Regions from separate parts of the Homo sapiens genome. Here region 2 is linked to region 1. Evidence: promoter capture Hi-C in 16 types of primary human blood cells and fetal thymus (Javierre and others, 2016). All regions are on one chromosome and are shown on one strand. The core of a region is centred on a gene start or on the middle of the fragment in contact, and the rest is flanking DNA. Distances in the headings are between cores, read along the strand shown.

Region 1 (6,911 bases), core at 1,580-4,079:
TCCCCTTTGAAATGGGAGCACTCGGAAGGGACAGCTGGCAGCCTCCTCCCCTGGGCTCTGCCTGCTTCTCCTCACACCGGCTGGTGGTTTGTTTGCCAGTCACTTGTATTTGTTCCTGAACATGTTTCTGACAGTTCACTTGTCATTGTAATTACTGTCGTAATCTAACTAAATGTTATATTACTGATGAATCAGAAGTGCACTAACAAGGAGAGATGTTTCTTATGAAAATTCAGTCTAATGCTTTGAAGGATACTTTACAAATGAGTCACCAAAAATATTGGCAAATTAGGTGTGGGTGAGATGAGTGTAAATAACTGGGTGAGAGAGAATTGTCAGAATCTCAGATGGGTTCCACTTGCTGACCACTTCACATGGCCCTTTAAACTCACCCTCCACTTCAAAGAATCCACAGCTGATGTTGGAGATGATGTTTCATCCCTGTGGATTTCCCAAGGAAAGCAGTTTGGGACTGCAAGAGATGGACCCGTAATAGAAGGAGAGGCCTTGACAGGCACGGTGGCTCACGCCTGTAATCCCAGCACTTTGGGGGACCAAGGTGGCTGGATCACCTGAGGCCAGGAGTTTGAGACCAGCCTGGCTAACATGGTGAAACCCCATGTCTACTAAAAATACAAAAATTAGCCAGGTATGGTGGTGGGCGCCTATAATCTCAGCTACTTGGGAGGCTGAGGCAGGAGAATCGCTTGAACTTGGGAGGTGGAGGTTGCAGTGAGCCAAGATTGTGCCACTGCACTCCAGCCTGCCTAGGGGACAGAGTGAGACTCCATCTCAAAGAGAAAAGAAGGAGAGTCCTTGAGAAAGATCAGTGATTGGCCAGGCACAGTGGCTTGTGCCTGTAATCTCAGCACCTCGGGAGGCTGAGGTGGGCGATTCACTTAAGGCCAGGAGTTCGAGACCAGCCTGGGCAAAATGGTGAGACACCATCTGTACTAAAATCACAAAAATTAGCTGGGCATGGTGGCACACACCTGTAATCCCAGCTACTCGGGAGGCTGGGTCGGGGGAGAATTGCTTGAAACCAGGAGGTGGAGTTTGCAGTGAGCTGAGATCGTGCCACTGCACTCCAGCCGAGCAACAGAGCAAGACCCTGTCTCAAAAAAAAAAAAAAAAAAAAATCAGCATGCTTACTCCTTAGAGGTTAAAATTACATGTGTGTTGTGGGGCTGCCCACAATTGTGCCCCCAAATAGGCATGTTGAAGTCCTAAACCCCAGTACCTGTTAATGCGACCTTATTTGGAAGTAGGGTGTTTGCAGACATAATCAAGTTAAGATGGTGTCATTAGGGTGGGCCCTAATCCATTATAACTATGTCTTTATAAAGAAGAGAAGAGACACAGAGACACACAGGGAGAATGCCATGTGACAACCTATGCAGAGACTGGAGTGACAGGCCAGGCCAGTGGGGAGAACATGAGGACAATGGAACCTGGACTGCCAAGCTCCAGCCCCCAAATCCCTCCCTTCTGGTTCCGGAGGCCCCAGGGTTACTCTCCCGCACACTAACTGCTTTGAAAACCTCATTCCTCAAATCTACTCCATCATGGGTGGCCTGAAGAAGCCTGGACAGGAGGTCCTGGGTGACCTGTGAGGGCATACACCACAGAGCTGGGTGCAAACCTGCAGAGCCAAAACCTGGGGCTCCTGGCTTCAAATCCACCTCTCACCAGTATTTGAGTTCTCTTTCCAGCGGAAAGTCTGCCCGGCCTCAGAGTTGCAGCCAGGAGAGTGGCTCAGAATCCAGCATGAAAACATTTGGAAGACATCAAGGTCCATTTAACCAGCACAAGAGCCCCAGCCTTCTTTGCTGTGTCAATGTGGGCTTCTCCAAGCCTCAGTTTTACTTATCCATGAAGTGGGTGTATTAAGGTAACGTTAAGTGGCTATAACAAAGAGACTCATGACAAATCAATGCCTTAAGGAAGATCATGTCTCTCTCTTGTAACAGTCCATAGTGCACATCCTGGGCTACTGTTCCACATGGAATCCAGGGACCTGGTTCCCTTCACTTTCTTCCTCTCCATTCCTTAGGACATTGTCCTCCTCGTCATAGACAGACACATCACAGGCCCGTCCTTGTTCTGACTCCTGAGAAAGGGAAAGAGAGGGTAAACCAGGAGCCCCACGGTCTGTCAGCCTAAGCCCCTGATGTAAAGAGTTCACATCATTTTTGCTTAATTTCTCCTGGTCACCTGTCCGTTCCCAACTGTAAATGGAGTTGGAGGTGAATTCTGGTCATGTGCCTGGTAGAAATGGGGACCAACTTTGAGGGACAGCCTCAGGCTGTGCAGATATAATGACACCTCCTTGCAACTGTGCAATAGGTACAGCTAGGGTACCTGGCGCCTAGTAAGCCCTCGGTAAAAGTGCTCAATGTTACTGAGCTCAGAGCTCCAAGGGACCTTAGAAACTCTCTGGCCCAACGTCCTCATTTCTTTACAGCTAAAGAAACAGGCCTAGAGAGGAGTGACATTGGCCTGTGTTCCCCATGGGTAAGGAGAAAAGTTGGTTCAGAATCCTATCTGGCCTGCAAACCCCATGCTCACACCTTTTATTTCAAAGTACCTGGTCTAAACCCACTAGGGTCTGGGCAGAGAGCAGGGTCCATATGACCTCTCCCCTGGTCTCCCAGGGTTGGGGGGCATCATTCTAGAGGGACCCTGTGCCCCACAGCAGCGCCCTCGGCTGGGGACCACACAGCTTTATGACTAGGTAGGTGTGGCCCTGGTTTCCAGGACAGGTGGCCAGACTGCTCTGTGACAAAGGGCCACGCCTGCCCCTGGGAGGGGTATTGGGCTGCCGCCCGCAGATGTTGCAGTAGGAACTGAAGAAGATGGCGTGCCTGGGCTTCCTCCTCCCCGTGGGCTTCCTCCTCCTCATCAGCACCGTGGCCGGGGGAAAGTACGGCGTGGCCCACGTGGTGTCGGAGAATTGGAGCAAGGACTACTGTATCCTGTTCAGCTCCGACTACATCACCCTCCCCCGGGACCTGCACCACGCCCCACTCCTGCCCCTGTATGATGGCACCAAGGCACCCTGGTGCCCGGGTGAGGATTCCCCCCACCAGGCCCAGCTCCGCTCCCCCAGCCAGCGGCCCCTCCGCCAGACCACTGCCATGGTCATGAGGGGTAACTGCAGCTTCCACACGAAAGGCTGGCTGGCTCAGGGCCAAGGTGCCCACGGGCTGCTCATCGTGAGCCGGGTCAGTGACCAACAGTGCTCAGACACCACCCTGGCACCCCAGGATCCCCGCCAGCCCCTGGCAGACCTCACCATCCCTGTGGCTATGCTCCACTATGCTGACATGCTGGACATCCTCAGCCACACTCGTGGGGAGGCCGTCGTCCGCGTGGCCATGTACGCACCCCCAGAGCCCATCATCGACTACAACATGCTGGTCATCTTCATCCTGGCTGTGGGCACAGTGGCTGCAGGCGGCTACTGGGCCGGCCTGACCGAAGCCAACCGGCTACAGCGGCGCCGTGCCCGAAGAGGAGGGGGGTCTGGTGGTCACCATCAGCTGCAGGAAGCTGCAGCAGCTGAGGGAGCCCAGAAGGAAGATAATGAGGACATCCCAGTGGACTTCACGCCGGCCATGACAGGCGTGGTGGTCACCCTGTCCTGCTCGCTCATGCTGCTGCTCTACTTCTTCTATGACCACTTTGTCTATGTCACCATTGGGATCTTTGGCCTGGGTGCTGGCATTGGCCTCTACAGCTGCCTGTCACCCCTGGTGTGCCGCCTGTCCCTGCGGCAATACCAGAGGCCTCCGCACAGCCTCTGGGCCTCTCTGCCGCTGCCTCTGCTGCTGCTGGCGAGCCTGTGCGCAACCGTGATCATCTTCTGGGTGGCCTACCGCAATGAGGACCGCTGGGCGTGGCTCCTGCAGGACACACTGGGCATTTCCTACTGCCTGTTCGTCCTGCACCGTGTGCGGCTGCCCACTCTCAAGAACTGCTCCTCCTTCCTGCTGGCCCTGCTGGCCTTTGATGTCTTCTTTGTCTTCGTCACCCCCTTCTTCACCAAAACCGGTGAGAGCATCATGGCGCAGGTTGCCTTGGGCCCTGCAGAGTCTTCAAGCCATGAGAGGCTGCCCATGGTACTCAAAGTGCCCCGGCTAAGAGTCTCCGCCTTGACCCTGTGCAGCCAGCCCTTCTCCATCCTTGGCTTCGGTGACATTGTGGTCCCCGGCTTCCTGGTTGCTTACTGTTGCCGCTTTGATGTGCAAGTCTGCTCCCGTCAGATCTACTTCGTGGCCTGCACCGTGGCCTATGCTGTGGGCCTGCTGGTCACATTCATGGCCATGGTCCTCATGCAGATGGGCCAACCTGCCTTGCTCTACCTAGTGTCCAGCACCCTGCTCACCAGCCTGGCTGTGGCTGCCTGCCGCCAAGAGCTCAGCCTCTTCTGGACTGGCCAGGGCAGAGCTAAGATGTGTGGGCTCGGCTGTGCCCCTTCAGCTGGCTCTAGGCAGAAGCAGGAGGGCGCAGCAGATGCCCACACAGCCAGCACACTTGAGAGAGGCACCAGCCGAGGAGCAGGGGACTTAGACAGCAACCCTGGAGAAGACACCACTGAGATTGTCACCATATCTGAGAATGAAGCCACCAATCCAGAGGACCGCAGTGATAGCTCCGAGGGCTGGAGTGACGCCCACTTGGATCCTAATGAGCTGCCCTTCATCCCCCCTGGGGCCTCGGAGGAGCTGATGCCACTGATGCCAATGGCCATGCTGATCCCACTCATGCCCCTGATGCCCCCGCCCTCAGAGCTGGGCCATGTCCATGCCCAGGCCCAGGCCCACGAGACTGGCCTGCCCTGGGCGGGACTCCACAAGAGGAAGGGTTTGAAAGTAAGAAAGAGCATGTCGACCCAGGCTCCCTTGTGAACTGGAGGCACTGGGACACACGCCTCTCAAAGGGCTGGTGGAACATTGCAGAGCAAAGCCATGCATGGCAACAAGAAATCAGGGTATCAAAGAGATTTCATATCTACCCAAGGAGTCTCTCTGTTTGTCGGGAGTGCAAGAGAGCAGCAACCACATAATAAGAGTGTGCAGGGCTCGAAGGGTCCTTAGGAGTGGGCACCACCCCCAAATAATGAAGGGGGGAAACTGAGGCTCCAAGAGGGCCTATGACTTGCACAAGTTCAAGCGGCAAGGTCGGGATTTGCATCCAGGGCTCACTGGGCAGCTACTCCCCTCTGCCTGCTTGCCCAACCCCTTCCCAATCCAGAGTGGCAGCTTCTTAGCCTGGCACACAGCCCCCATCCCATCCCTGCCACCCACCCTAGGCTCATTGCCCATCTTCTCTCCATGCTCAGGTCAAACAGAACTCCTTGTCCTCCCCACCCGCTCTCTCTGCATATGCTGTTCCCTCCAGCTGGGATGCCCTTCCCTCTCCAGACAGAAACACTCCAGCCTGGCTCCCTGACTCACTAGAAGATTCCGAAGCATCCTTTACTCCTCAGCTCACATCCATTCTGCAAAACGTCTCTGTTCAAGAATCCCAGGCAGCAGCACCAAGCCCAGCAAGTTCCTGTATGCACCACCCATTCCATCTTCAGGCATTGAGTATGCCCCTACTATGTGCATCGCCATGTGGTGGGCACAGGGAAGGCCTCTGTCTAGCTGGGGGAGGGGGAGGGGTGGGCAGACAAGAAACAAACTTAGAATTGTCTCAAAGAGGTCGGGAGGGGTTGGAGAGGTTGGGCCCAGGGTGGAAGAATTCCGGAGACCAAGGCCTCCCTCACTGACTCTAAGTAATGTTCAAGCCTCGTTGGGTCTCTGTAGTCTCATCTGCAAAATGAGACTTATAATACCATTTCCATCTGGAGGCAGGGGCATGGACGAGATGACCTCCTAAGGACTCTACAGGCTTTTAGGCCATGTAGGGTGCTGATGTGTTGCTTAATCAGAGCAGACAAACTCTGGGGTGAGAAGGCTTCCTGGAGGAGGTGTTTTTGGAGGGGAGGAAAGTGTATCCCAAGAGGCGGTGTGGTTCAGTGGTTAGGGTTCTACAGCCAGGCTGCCTACCACAAATCCCAGCCCTACCACTGACTTGGAGTATCTCACTGAGCAAATGACTTATCCATTCAGTGCCTCTGTTTTCTTGTGTGTGAAATGGGATAATAGGACCTACCATCTGGTTCTTAGGAAGTTTGAACGAGTTGGCCTATGTCAGGTGATTGGCACAATGCCCTGCCTGTCCGAAGAGCCCCCTGCACGTGAGCTATGTTTATATTGCTCCCCTAGTGAAAGCCTCACAGACTCAAACCCAGCTCCTACAAGACCTTGAGGTCCCAGCCCAACGGCCCTCTTCCACCCCTCCAAACCCCTACCGCCACAAGCACACGCCAGACCCACCACACCCCCCATGCTTTTTCCTCTTCTTGGAACTCTCTTTCTGCCCCTTCCTTACCACGCCCCGTGAACTTGGCCTGGCTGGCTGCTCCTCTTCGCAGCCTTTCCTAAAGCATCCCTGTCTCAATCACACGACCAGGCACCTTTAGTTTTCCGATCTTCCCCGGTAGAGGGCCAGCTTTGGAAGGGCAGGGGCCTTGCCCATCTTGTTCATCTGTGTAATTTCAGGGCTCAGAACAGCCCCTGGAGTGTTACAGGTGCTTGATGTATTTGCTGGAGGAATGAACGGATGGATGAATGAATGAATGAATGAATGAGGAGTTGACCAGCCTGAACTGCAGAGGAGGGAATGCTATGAGGGAAGGCCCCACTGCCCAGGCCACCTCACAGGCTTCCTGCAGGACCTTGGTCAGTGTTGACGTGAGACTTGGCAGGCCTGGCTGGGCCCTGGAGTGGGGAGAGAGTCCCAGGGAGGCAGTGCAGGTGGTGGGCCTCTCAAAGCCCCGCTTGCCAGGGAAGAAGTGCAGC
Region 2 (6,911 bases), core at 1-2,500, 430 kb after region 1:
AATCTTCTAAGAAAAGTCTTTTAGTATCTCACTCCAAGTATCTAGAAATACCTTAGAATGTTTCAAATTATTAAAAATACTTCTCGGTTGGCTCTTCCCTCCACCTCCTCAAGTACTTCATTATTTTATCCATGGAATATCCCCATTCTCACATTAAGGGCAAGAAATCTGAGACCTATGGTAATAGTTTCTTTTTTTTTTTTTTTTTTGAGAAGGAGTTTCGCTCTTGTTGCCTAGGCTGGAGTGTAATGGCATGATGTCAGCTCACCGCAACCTCTCCCTCCTGGGTTCAAGTGATTCTCCTGCTCTAGCCTCCCAAGTAGCTGGGATTACAGGCATGCGCCACTTTACCTAGCTAATTTTTTTTTTTTTTTTTTTTTGTATTTTTAGTAGAGATGGGGTTTCTCCATGTTTGTCAGGCTGGTTTCAAACTCCCAACCTCAGGTGATCCACCTGCCTTGGCCTCCCAAAGTGCTGGGATTATACGTGTGAGCCACCACGCCCAGCCGTATCATGATAGTTTCAATCAGGAAGAGTGAAAGCTGTAATAACCATGTAACTTTGTCTAACTAAGTGTGCAGAGATCTGAAAGTCCACCAGGTTGGCTCTTTAACATAAAGAAGTAGAGAGTTTGCCTAAAGGAATTAGCAGAAATAGGGAAATAACTTTTATTTGCAGATCCCAGGAAGGTAGATTACAAACAACAGCAAATCTTAGTGTCTCTAAATAACACTCTAGGCCATTTGGAATATAAAAAGGTAATTATTTTACTTCAGAAAATATCTCCAAAAGTTCACTTTTTTTTTGAGACAGAGTCTTGCTGTGTCGCTCAGGCTGGAGTGCAGTGGCACAATCTCAGCTCACTACAACCTCTGCCTCCCCAGTTCAAGCCATCCTCCCACCTCAGCCTCCTGAGTAGCTGGGACTACAGGTGTGTGCCACTTGTCCAGCTAAATTGTTGTATTTTTAGTAGAAACAGGGTTTCACCATGTTGGTCAGGCAGGTCTCTAACTCCTGACCTTGTGATCTGCCCGCTTCAGCCTCCCAGAGTGCTGGGATTATAGGCGTGAGCCACCATGCCCAGCCACAATTTTATTTAAACCTCCTGTAGAATTTGGATAGGAGAATAAAAGCTTTACCAATAGGAAAATACTTTTCATGAAATGGTTTCAAGGATTGTGAACTTGGCAGGTGAAGCATAACAGTTATTGAAAATACTTTTAGCCAAGGAAATCTACTGATGCAAATTAAATATATTTACAAGCCCAAGGCCTGTGGTAGAAACATCCTAAGAGTATCACAAATGTACAGTTTACTGCCTGGATTATTGAAAGCAAAATAGCTGTGTTATATAGATCTTAATAGCAGAAGCTTTCAAAGATTACTCACAGAAAAGCAGCTTTCAGAACTCATTATGTTCTAAAAAATGTATGTTTTTCTTTCTTTTTTATTTTTTTTGAGATGAAGTCTCACTCTTGTCCCCCAGGCTGGAGTGCAATGGCGTGATCACGGCTCACTGCAACCTCCGCCTCCCAGGTTCAAGTGATTCTCCTGCCTCAGCCTCCCTAGTAGCTGGGATTTCAGGTGCCTGCCACCATGCCTGGCTAATTTTTGTACTTTTAGTAGAGATGGGGTTTCACCATGTTGGCCAGGTTGGTCTCAAATTCCTGACCTCAGGTGATCCCCCCTGCCTCGGCCTCCCAAAGTGCTGGGGTTACAGGCGTGGGCCACCACACCTGGCCAGGAATGTGTGTTTTTCAAAAATTACTTTTGAAAGACTAAAGCCCTATAGTTGATAAAACTATAAAATGTCTTTATGTATTTGTATGGTGATAGAAACTGTAAAACACTTTATACCATTAAATACACATGAAATTAATATCTTCCTGGTCTCAGGATTTCCATAAAATTTACCCTTTTTAATTTGGCAATGCTAACAGCTACAGAAGACATATTACCACCAACCAACCGTTGCTTCATTAGAAACTGCACCAAATCCAATGTCAAAAACATTACTTTATTTTTCTAGTATGAAATGTCCTATTACATACAAAAGAATTGCTGTTTAGAATTTGCCACAATTTGTTGAAAACATAGCAATCTATTGCCTACAGGTAGGAAAGTTCTTGCTGCAACAAATTTTAAATGATTAAGCCCATATATATTTCTATATATATGAATAAATAGTGCAGAAATACTGTGACGTGATGAGATGCAGAATAATTTTATAATTCATTAAAATGTAGAATTCTTGCATCAGCACAGTGCATACAATATGTAACTTTTTTTAAAAAGTAAAAGGACAAAATAATCCATATTTAAGTATTTCCATCTTAATATTTTAAGCAAAAATGTTTTCATGTTTTCATATTGAGTGATTAGTCTCTTTAGTTTGTAAACATAGGTTTAAGTGACATCTTCATGTACAAAAAGGAATGGGCTTCATTAGATAAAATTAAGCCAGAATAACCTGTACACCTGAGCCTGTAATAAGAAAGAATTGGGAACTGTAGCAACATCTTTCTTTTAAGAAACCAAGGTCTGGGAAAGGTTTTGCATAGCAGGGAAACGTTGAAAGGAAGGAAACTTTTAAAAGCAATAATTAGATAAATTCCAGAAGTTGATAGGACAAAGCTAATATGAGTTAGAATAAAATCTAGTAGAATTTTTGCAAAGCTGCATAATCCAGCTATGGCAGATTTTATAGAAGCTATTACCACAATGCAGTAATACAATGTGTAAGAACATTGAAAGGAAGAACATGCAAAATACATCTTCCTCATTTTCTTCCTACTGCTTACACTACTTTTCCTTACATGGAAGAAACAAACAAACCAACAAGCAAAAAACAAACCCAATCAACAAATAACACAGAGGATGAGATCATCTAACAAAAAATGTCCTTCATACAATATAAGTAGCTGTCTGTAATTGGTAATTTGCCCAGTATCACAGAATGTACAGATGAAGGCAATGTGTATCTTGTCGCATTACCTTTTTCGTTAGTATGATCAACTGATGCGACAGGATTAGCACCCCTGAAGATTCTTCTCTGACGTGATGACAATTGACTGGGAATGATAAAACGAGGGGCCACTGCTGTCCAGGAGAATTCCAGGTACAATTAGATTCTTTTGCCTTTCATGACCTTGCAGCCCTCCCTCCCCACAGAGGCTTACAGATAATCATTAGCACACATTCAAAGACACCTCTGTCTGTGGGAGAAAAACTATCTCCATTTATTTTGTTTCACATACATCCATAGTTGAATTTTAATACAAAAAGAAAAATTAGAATCTGACAAATGTTTACAAAGAAGATACCTTCAAATAGATTTTACTCATTTCAACCTGGTGTGGAGTAATTGACAAATTGTACTGTTATATTCAAGTCACCAGAGTCTGTAGTCCAGGACCACTTAGCCCAACCTTTATGCAAGCTTGATTTTAATCTACCATGAACAATAAACTCATTGTTGATTCGCAGTTGTGTGTGTGTGCACATGTGTACATAGCAGCTCCTTTCATAGAAAGAAAAGACATCTAGAGGTTGTCTTGTACTTTTACGTACAGGAATCATTGATAAGATATGGATGGATTATATGTAACCGTGGCTGGATTTTATAAGAAAAAATAATTAGTTGACAAATGAGGGCAGCAATAAAAAAGCATCTTTTTTGCAACAATAAATAAATACAGTCAAAAGTTTTCTTTGAGACTCTAAACCAGCTTCTTCACTGAAGAGCAGACGTGGCATTTCCATGGAGTTATACTTGACCCCACAGTATCATTGTTTCTTGCTTTCTTTTTCTTTTTTTTTTTTAATAAACAAAATTTTCTCGCTTCTGCCACAATAATAAAACCATTTGATCTTGACAAGATAATGGTGTCGTTGACTTTTCTTTTTTCTTTTTCTTTTCTTCCTTTTTTTGTTTTTGAAACGGAGTTTTGTTCTTGTCACCCAGGCTGGAGTGCAATGGCTCAATCTCGGCTCAATACAACCTCTGCCTCCCGGGTTCCAGCGATTCTCCTGCCTCAGCCTCCCAAGTAGCTGGGATTACAGGCATAGGCCACCATGCACAGCTAATTTTGTATTTTTGGTAGAGACGGGGTTTCTCCATATTGGTCAGGCTGGTCTCGAACTCCCGACCTCAGATGATCCGCCCGCCTTGGCCTCCCAAAGTGCTGGGATTACAGGCGTGAGCCACCGCACCTGGCAACTTTGCTTTTTTCTTGTCCATTGGACAAAATTGGCCAATAATATAATTGGACTGTTATGACCAATAAAAACAAAGTTTAGGTCAAGTCTTGTCAGGATAGCCTCACTAAAAAGATCTGGCTCCTTAATTTAAAATAGTTCAGGCAACAAGATTCTTGCTGTGTTTTATGTTAGGTTAACATGCTGAACTTTAGGAAGCTGTAGACTGCAGTTTGTTGTTGTGAGACCTACAGAGTATAGAAAAAGGGAACAATTGAGCACCTTTCATTTTTGAAAATGATGCTTTATGCGGATGCCAAAGTAAATAAATCTGGAAGAAGCAGCCATGTTCTTTCATTCACCCTTGGCAAGCGAATAGAAAAGAACGATTAAGAAATTTTTAACCTATAATAATAAAACTTTTCACTGTACACTAAGCATAATAGCTCACTGGAAAAAGCCAATATTTAAAATATGTATGTATATATATTTGTCTAATAAAGATTACAACATTTTCAGGCAACTGGACAAATAGAGACATTTACAGAAGCATTACCATTGTGGTGAAAGGTGCGTGTGTGTGTGTATGTGTGTGTTTATTTACACGGATGAGGGGAATATAAAGGGAAAAATTATGCTAAAACAAAAGAAAAAGCAATTTTAAAATCATATTTTTCTATTAAAGTCCAGAAAGTCTCCCAGTTTCACACAGTTTTATTCACAATTTTTTTTTTTTTTGAGACGAAGTCTCGCTTTTGTCCCCAGGCTGTAGTGCAAAGGCGCGATCTTGGCTCACTGCAACCTCTGCCTCCCAGATTCAAGCGATTCTCCTGCCTCAGCCTCCCGAGTAGCTGGGATTACAGGTGCCTGCCACCACACCCGGCTAATTTTTGTACTTTTTGTAGAGACGAGGTTTCACCATGTTGGCCAGGCTGGTCGCAAACTCCTGACCTCAGGTGATCCGCCCGCCTCGGCCTCCCAAAGTGCTGGGATTACAAGTGTGAGCCACCAAGGCTGGCCTCACAACTTTTGTCAGTAAACCAAATTACTGTACAGTTACCAGGACTAAGTCAAAGGACTTTATATTGCAATAGCAGATAAATTTATATTGCAATAGCAGATAAATACAGTATTCCAATAGTTTACAATTTTTAAATACATTGTTTCACGTGGCTGCTAGAATAAATTTTTTACCACTATACATCGTTAACATTAAAAAATTATATTAGCTAACCTGACTTTTTGGGGGGCAATTTTGGATTACGTAATCACAAGGTACAATAAAACAGTGACCCCAACATCCAGTTCTGATTCCAGTTAAAAATTTAGACTAAAGATATCACAATCCGTAAGAAAAGAAAGAATATGGATGGTATAAATGATGAATTATAACAAAGTGCAGTAATGAAAACAATGTGCAAACAATGCTGGAGATCATAAATTACAATGGGAAAATATGGCAAAGGAAATTCTGGAAACCCATAATAAAATCAAGTTTCAATAACTGGCTAGTTATGTTTCATTCTACCTTAAATCTGGAAAGCAATAGAAATTCCCTAAAAATGCAACAGCAAGTTGTCTTTATACAATTCTTTGCATTGTAATTTTTTTCTTTTTTTCTTTTTTTTTTTTTTTTTGATTTGTTTGTTTTGAGACAGGGTCTCACTCTGTAGCCCAGTCTGGAGTGCAGTGGCACAATCATGGCTCACTGCAGCCTCAACCTCCAGGGCTCAGGTGATCCTCCTACCTCAGCCTCCTGGGTAGCTGGGACTACAGGCACGTGCCACCATGCTCAGCTAATTTTTTGTATTTTTTGTAGAGATGGGGTTTCCCCATGTTGCCCAGGCTGGTCTCAAACTCCTGGGCTCAAGTGAGCTGCCTGCCTTGGCTTCTCAAAGTGTTGAGATCACAGGTGTGAGCCACTGCACACAGCCTAATTTGTTTATTTAAGCAGAATTGAGCAAACGTCTCCATTCAGCTCCCATGTGCTTTATTGAAAATTATGTCAACTTCAGTATATTAAAAAGCTACATAAAATAACCAGGTGGCAAGAAGACATCCTAAGTGGCCCCTACACTATGCGGGCCCAGCCTAGGTCTCCTTTGCTCCTTTACCAAATTCCCTTTGTCTTGCCACAGGCCCCAGGACCTCCAAGCAACTTCCTCTCCTTCATCAGCAGTTGCCAGCAGTCATCCTCTGGGCTCTGCCAGCAAGTTGGCAGCAGGGTAGGATTCACACCCCTTGGCTTCTACCTCACAGTTACCACCAAAGGCCTTTCCAATTTAAAAAAGCAATTTTAGAAATTGAACCAGAGGAATAACCACCATGTACAAATCAAAAAGCATAGAGGGGCTTATAATGAGAAGTTGTGCTCCTCTGTCCTACCTTAACTCCCTCTGAAATCCAGGCTCCCTATGATCAATCCCCTTGACCTTTCAGTTCTCTGGGTAGATTTCTTTTCTTTTCTTTTCTTTCTTTCTTTCTTTTTTTTTTTTTGAGACAGAGTCTTGCTGTTGCCCAGGTTGGAGTGCAGTGGTGGGATCTCAGCTCACTGCAACCTCCTCCTCCTGGGTTCAAATGATTTTCCTGCCTCAGCCTCCCGAGTAGCTGGGATTACAGGTGCCCACCCTTACGCCTAGCTAATTTTTGTATTTTTAGTAGAGACAAGGTTTTACCATATTGGCCAGGCTGGTCTGGAACTCCTGACCTAACCG

Evidence for each region. Contacts are between HindIII fragments. The CHiCAGO score rates a contact against its expected background, and 5 or more counts as called.
Region 2: a contact is called between a fragment that was not itself captured here and the fragment with the promoter of SPPL2C in region 1, in 1 of 17 cell types (endothelial precursors). The highest score is 5.2, in endothelial precursors.

The regions. Positions count from the first base shown.
Region 1 is chr17:45,842,052-45,848,962 of GRCh38, forward strand. It overlaps SPPL2C (signal peptide peptidase like 2C), which reads left to right and starts at 2,830. Exons shown (of 1, transcript NM_175882.3): 1 at 2,830-5,016. The coding sequence starts at 2,856. The coding sequence ends at 4,910. It overlaps MAPT-AS1 (MAPT antisense RNA 1), which reads right to left. Exons shown (of 2, transcript NR_024559.1): 2 at 1,305-2,110. RefSeq lists enhancers at 2,752-3,736, 3,737-4,720. The HindIII fragment of the contact is 7,159 bases long and covers 1-6,911 here.
Region 2 is chr17:46,270,974-46,277,884 of GRCh38, forward strand. LOC124904014 (a long non-coding RNA gene) reads left to right here and starts at 3,043. Exons shown (of 3, transcript XR_007065823.1): 1 at 3,043-3,118; 2 at 6,336-6,422. It also overlaps a transcript of LRRC37A not described here and a transcript of ARL17B not described here. The HindIII fragment of the contact is 238 bases long and covers 1,132-1,369 here.